Linked DNA regions of Homo sapiens: region 1 is linked to region 2. Evidence: promoter capture Hi-C in human tissues and cell types (Jung and others, 2019). All regions are on one chromosome and are shown on one strand. The core of a region is centred on a gene start or on the middle of the fragment in contact, and the rest is flanking DNA. Distances in the headings are between cores, read along the strand shown. Region 1 has its middle 14 kb from the start of RIPK4. Region 2 holds the start of ZBTB21 (zinc finger and BTB domain containing 21).

Evidence for each region. Contacts are between HindIII fragments. The study calls those that stand out against the background at their distance.
Region 1: a fragment that was not itself captured here is called in contact with the fragment with the promoter of ZBTB21 in region 2 in 2 of the 25 tissues and cell types used here (mesendoderm cells and thymus).

What each region holds. Positions count from the first base shown.
Region 1 is chr21:41,779,691-41,783,261 of GRCh38, forward strand. No RefSeq gene overlaps it. Among named protein-coding and RNA genes, the nearest start is that of RIPK4, 14 kb to the left of the region's middle. The HindIII fragment of the contact is 9,090 bases long and covers 1-3,571 here.
Region 2 is chr21:42,009,110-42,012,348 of GRCh38, forward strand. ZBTB21 (zinc finger and BTB domain containing 21) reads right to left here and starts at 1,251. Exons shown (of 3, transcript NM_001098402.2): 1 at 1,143-1,251. It overlaps ZNF295-AS1 (ZNF295 antisense RNA 1), which reads left to right and starts at 85. Exons shown (of 2, transcript NR_119384.1): 1 at 85-475. RefSeq lists silencers at 424-533, 574-883, 1,324-2,063. The HindIII fragment of the contact is 7,901 bases long and covers 1-3,239 here.

The sequences.
Region 1 (3,571 bases), core at 476-2,975, 230 kb before region 2:
TCGTTCTTTTGCTGCTTCATTCTTTCTTTGCTTTGTTGGGCGTTTTGTCCAATTCTTTGTTCAAAATGCCAAGAACCTGGACAAGTTGCAGTTATGACCCTCGACCGGTGATAGTAGCACTCGCTCCTAACAGCTTGGCTGCAGTAAGCCTAGGCTTCCAGGGAGAGCCTCTGCACCTGCTGCTGTGCTGCTTGAGTTCTCTCAGACAAGGAAGCATGAAAAGGGCTGCCTTTTTCAAACAGCAGGGGAAGGAAAACACAGTGATAACAAATCCAAATATTATTTCAATTGAGATCTTATCATATACATCATATACACAGCCATTTAAAAAGTGAAAACAAATATAATAAAATCAAATTATATTCAATAAAAAAAGCAAGGCGCAGGCATTTACATAATGAGACCCACTTCTCTTAATGTATTATATAGTCTGTAAAAGCAAAAGATGTGAAGCACCCCAAATCCCCATGGATGGGCGATGGTTGAATTATTATCACTCATCCATAGGAAAGACTGCCGTGCAATTGTGAAAATGGGAGGAGGACTGTGTCTACACGTGCCTCTGGAGTGATTGCACAGACCACTCTGAACAGAGCAAGGTGGAGGAAATCTTCCATTTTTCCAGTACAGGCAGGAAATAGGGACCCATCCCTCTGTCTATCTATTTACTATCTTTATTCCCATCCATCTATTATCTATCTATGTTTCTACCATTCATCATCTATGTACTACCTAACTACTTGCCTACCTGTTCTCTATCATCTATCTACCATCAATCAATCTATCTCTCCCTATCTGCTTCCATTCTAAAAATAAACAGTGTGAGCACAGTCCACAGGGAGGGGGCTGGAAGTCTCTGGGGGAAGACACAAGTCCTTGTTGCACATGCCCTGTTTTCTAGATTTGACTATGAAACCATGCAAATATTTTACATCCTTATAAAACACAATTAACTTTAAAAAGCAATGTCTAAATACCAAAAATAAAATAAGACAAATGAACCAAATGTGTATCCATTTGGTAGCCTGACTAACCAGAGGGGAGCTATTCCAATTGACTTTAAAACGTAGGAATTTAAAAGTAACTACTAGTGGAAAATGCACTAAGGGCAAAAAGAACAGAGAAAGAAAGGAAAGGAAGAAAGGAAGGAAAGGAAGAAAGAAAGAAAGGAGGGAGGGAGGGAGAGAGAGAAAGAGAGAGAAAGAGAAAGAAAGCAAGAGAGGGAGGGAGAAAGAAAGAGAGAGGAGAGGAGGAAAGAAAGAAAGGAAGGAAGGAGGGGAGGGAGGAGAGGGAGGAAAGGAAGGAAGGAAGGAAGGAAGGAAGGAAGGGAGGGAGGGAGGGAGGGAGGGAAGGAGGGAGGGAGGCATCTTAACCCCTTTCCCACAATCACACTATTGGCTGAGTGTTGATGTTATCCTGAGACTGCCCTGTGTGTGTTGAAGCATAAAGGAAATGTGATATAGAAACTCTATCATTAGCTCTATGGTAAAGAACTGAGATTTTTGGCATGAGAAAATAAAAGTTAAGAAGCTGTAATTTAAAAGAAAAATATTGGCCAGACACAGTGCCTCATGCCTGTAATCCCAGCACTCTGGAAAGTGGGAGGATCACTCAAGCCCAGGAGTTCAAGACTAACCTGGGCAACAGAGTGAGACCCCGTCTCCCCCCAAAATAAACAAAATTAGCGAACATGGTGGCATGCACTTGTGATCCTGGATATTTTGGAGGCTGAGGTGGGAGGATTGCTCGAGCCCAGGAGTTTGAGGCTGCAGTCAGCCATGATCACAACACTGCACTCCAGCCTGGGCAACAAAGTGAAACCTTGTCTCAAAAAAATAAAAAATCATAAAAGACAAGGAAAATATCAGCACGAAATAATAATTAAAATCAATAAAAATGGATAATGCAAGCATTCTATTAATTAGGCTCATTATCATAATGTAAATACATATTTGGGGAACTTGTTCCTCCAAACAGCAATGCTCTCTCTTCCTCCTCTACACTTTATGCCAACTAATTTTACATAAATGGGAAACTGTCATTTCTACCAAAGCGAGCTGCACTGTGTTTCTTGGGGTGAACCTTTAGGGAGACAGCCATTGTGAGAATGAAAGGGGAAATATATTATTGAAAGTTTACTTACAGTTTTTAAAAATGCCTATTTCCTCCCTGTTTTCTCCCACCCTCCAAGTTTATTAGTTACCTCTATCCACTAGCAATGGACAGATTTTCATGATTTAATTATTTTTACTATCAATTTTAAAAGTCAGCAAAACATATTTACTTTTTAACAATATATCATTTTAAAAGGGTACAGAGTTGCAGTTACATAGGACGACTAAGTCTAGAGGTCCAGTGCAGAGCCTGAGGACTGTACTTAACAATTCTGTGCTGTACCCCGGAAATTTACCAAGAGAGATTTCAGGTGCTGTCACCACACAAACACACAAAACGCAACCGTGGGGAGGTGGACATGTTCATATGCTTGACCGTAGTAACTTTGCTGTGAGTATCTCTATCAACACATCATGTTACACAATGTAAATATATGCCTTTTTTTTTTTTTTTTTTTTTTTTGAGATGGAGTCTTGCCCTTGTCGCCCAGGCTGGAGTGCAATGGCATGATCTCCGCTCACTGCAACCTCCGCCTCCCAGGTTCAAGCAATTCTCCTGCCTCAGCCTCCCACATAGCTGGGATTACAGGCGCCTGCCACCACGACCAGCTAATTTTTGTATTTTTAGTAGAGACAGGGTTTCACCATGTTGGCCAGGCTGGTCTCGAACTCCTGACCTGGTGATCTGCCCACCTCGGCCTCACAAAGTGCTGGGATTACAGGCGTGAGCCACCATGCCTGGCCACCATTTTTATTTTTAAAATGATAAAACAAAACACATTGCTGAACCAAGAAAAGAATTGAGATGATCGTGCAAATAATGATGCATACTATATTTGGGAAAAATAAAAGTTATGAAACAGTAGCAGGTCCAAGTTATATACGCAACTGTGTAAAATGTGTTCTTTAAAAATCAGGGTTTCTGTGCTTTCAGCAACCTACACATGTTCTGACTTGTGATCTCAAGGTCTGGGAGACATGTGTGGTGAAATCACACACACCTGCCCCAGCAGAGGGGTCACTGGACGTCTTCATGCGCTGCAGGGAACTCAGATGAAAGGGACCTTAAGTAATGTAACCTTTACGTTAGATTCAAACATGCCTTTATGACTGCTCATCTGATTTGTAATTTAAAGCTTAAGCAAAGTATGGCATTATTTAAATGCTCATTTTTAATTTGTTGAAAGAAAAGTCAATATTTATCATGAAGACTGCGGCTCAAGCCTAAGACCTATCTAGTGGGAAGCAGGACCAGAGCAAAGGTCTGACTGTACGTGAACATTTTAAATTTTTTTTTTTGTTTTTTTTTTTTTTGAGACAGAGTCTCACTCTGTTGCCCAGGCTGGAGTGCAGTGCTGTGGTGCGATCTTGGCTCATTGCAACCTCCACCCCCTGGATTCAAGCAATTCTCCTGCCTCAGCCTCCCTGGTAACTGGGATTACAGGCATGTGCCACCA
Region 2 (3,239 bases), core at 1-2,500:
CAGGGCTGTGAGCGCTTGCACGAAAGGAAAAACCCCAGGCCGTGTGAAGTCTAACTTTCCCCGTCCTCTCGGTCAGGCAATCCCACCGGGGCACCTGTCTAAAAACACCCCGCCTCCGAACGCGCGCTCTTGCGGAATTCTCCCGAACCGCAGAGCCCTCGTGGCTGGGACCGCATAGCAACCGGGGGCAGAGTGCGAGCCCCCAGCGGTGTGCTGGGATGGAAAAGCAGGAGCCGCTGAGGATGGACTACGGGGCGTGTTCCCGAAAAGCCGGGAAGAGATGTGGCGGGGCTGCCGCGGGCGTCTCTAAGGCCGGCACGGGTGGCGTCTTGACTCCCTGCCCCTCCAGCCGCGGACCTCGGACGGGGGGAAGGGGGCTCCTCCAAGCGGGGAGACGGTCGCCGGCCGAGCAGCAGGGCTCCTGGCCGGCGGAGGGTGCTATGCTCTGCGGGACCGCCGGGAAGTCCCAGACAAGGTCTGCGGGGGCTCTGGAGGAAAAAAAACGCGCTGTGAGGTCCAGGCGTCCGCGGGAGGGGCCGGGGGCGGGGAGGGAGCGTCCAGCGGGCACCGAGCGGTCACGCTCCGGCCACCGGGCCGAGGACGGGGCGGCGGGGCTAGGTCCCGGACCGTGAAGGGAGCGGCGGGTCGCGGCAGGTGCGGGGTCCCCAAGGCCGCCGGCCAGCTTCCGCGCACACCCCGCGGCCCGGGCCGCCGGCCCCCAACCCCTGCCCGGAACAGGAGAACGCGCCCTTCTCCACGAGGCGTTTCAACCGCTCCGCGCGAGGGGCGCGCGCCTGGGCCAGGCGTGTCCCCTACCCCAGGGGCAGCTCGGCCAGGGTGAAGAGTGAAGCCCGTGAGGGAATGGAGCATGCGCATTCGCGAGGGCGAGGCCAAGTGCTGGCAGGGAGCGTGCGCAGTGTGAAGGTACAATCGGCTACGTGGGAACCCGGGACATGCTCGGTGAGCGCCCAGGTCCCGCGCACGCGCAGAAGCGCTCGGAGCCCGCAACCCGCTGGTGGAGAAAAAAGAGGAGAGAAATCACCTCAGAGTTACGTCAGGAAAGGCCGCGTTTTGCGGGGAGGCTGTAGCCTCCCAAGGAGCCCCGCAGTTCTCCTAGAGCTAGGGGCGTGACAGTTACTCACCGGTCTTCAGTCTCGAGGCAGACGCCGGGCCCCTTTCCGCTCACACTCGGCTCGCGCGCGCCGCAGCCGCCGCTGCCGCTGTGATTCCATCCATCTTGAATTTGACGTCATCCCACACCAGGGATGAGGTCATCGCAGGCATCGCTCGTCACGTGCGCGGCACTCTGATTGGGCGCCGGGCGCCGGAGGGCGGGGCGGGGGGGGGGCCTCGCGGCGCAGGGGGACGGGGGAGGGCGGGCCTGCCCGGAGCCGCGCGCCGAACGGACGCTGCCGCGCTGCAAGCCCGCGCTCTCGGTCCATGAGGGGAGCCTGCGGCGGCCGTTAGGGGAGGCGGCCGGGCTGGGGGCCACGGCGAGGAGGCTGAGCGCCCCGGCCGGGTGGAGTCCGTCGCGGCGAGGAGCGCGCCGATTCTCAGGGGACTTTGCCGCCTGCCGGAGGCGCCCTTGCTGCGGGGTCGCCCCGGGTCATTCGGCCGCGGTCCTGCCCAGCTGGGCCGCCAGTAGTCCCCGCTTCCGGCGCGGCGGGATGCGTGGCGCGAGCGCTTAGTCCCTCGGAGGGGAGGACGCGCTCCCGTTCACCGGTGGACGGCGGGCGACTCCCCGAGCCGACGACCCCGACAGCGACGGGAGCGACGCGCGGCTTTCTGACGGGCGCGGGCGGCGAGCGGGGCCCTGCGGTCCTCGGGTCGGCGGCAGACGCTCCCGGCCCGCGAGGAAAGCCCGCGGGAGGCGGCTCCTGCCGCTCGCTAGTCGCTCAGAGCGCTTCCATTTCCTCCTCCCGACGCAACCTGGCCACCTGGCCCCTGGGCGGGGACCCGGCGGCCGCGGCCAGGGCGTCCGGGCTCGTTCGCCGCGCAGATGGGGGTCGGTCCTGACCCCCGCCGGGGCGTCCACAGCGGCCCGCAGGCAGCCGGAGACTTCGCATAGTGCCCGGCTCATCGGAGGGCTGTGATCTTTTTTTTTTTTGCAGAAATATTACAACTCCACTGATGAGAAAACTCACTTCGCTTTCAGTCAAAACCAGAAATTAGATAACAGAAATGCCACACTGTCAACACCGACCGGGAGGAAAGCCTCGCTGGCGGAGACCGCTCAAGGGAGCCCTCCGCGCGTTCTCCCAGCCCGGGTCGCAGGTGGAGGGGGAGTGCCTCCTGCAGGGACGGTTCTCCCGCAGACACTCAAACTCCGGGATGTAAAACCCCTGTTAATAATTGTCAGGGGTCTGTTAATTGCCAAATACAGTTTTTGAAAGTTGTATGCACTAGGTAAAATAATTTATGTAATGTTTGGAAGTATGTGAAAGACAGACATTAGATTGATACAAATTAAAAATTTGTTGCCAAATTAACAGCTCTGTTGTAGATTATTAGTTTGACTAATTTTAAGAGGACTCTTAGTCTTACATAAAGAATCTTGCACCTAAAAATTTTCTCCTACAACTTTAAAACACTTTAAATTTTTTTTTTTTTTTCCTGAGATGGAGTCTCTGTCAGTCCCAGGCTGGAGTGCAGTGGCATGATCTCAGCTCACTGCAGCCTCCACTCCCTGGCTCAAGCCATCCTCCCGTCTCAGCCTCGGCAGTAGCTGGGACTATAGGTGCATCCGTCACACCTAGCTGATTTTTGTATTTTTGGTAGAGATGGAGTTTCACCATGTTGCTCAGGCTGGTTTCAAACTCCTGGTCTGAAGCAATCCACCCGCCTCAGCCTCCCAATGTGCTTGGATAACAGGTGTGAGCCACCATGCCCAGCCTAAAGAGTGTCTGTATTTTGAACTGTATGGTGGAAAAGCACAAAGTGACTGTTCTGAAGGTAGAAGGCAACAGTGATTATAAGTCTTAAAAGAACCTTGAGTTTTAGGTTCCCCTGTGATTAGGCTGGGGGAGTGTGTGCTGTTATCCTAGTTTTATAGGTGAGAAAACTAGTACTGGCTTTACCGCATGCTGGAAGCAGCCTCCCTTGAGCGATCCCTTTCTAGCCACCTGCTTAGCTGTTTTTTTGTTTTGTTTTGTTTTTTGTTTTTTCAACCTTCCTCAGGACGATACACATTGGTGTCTCTGCTTTGAGCTATATGATCAGGCTTTTGGCCTCACCATTTC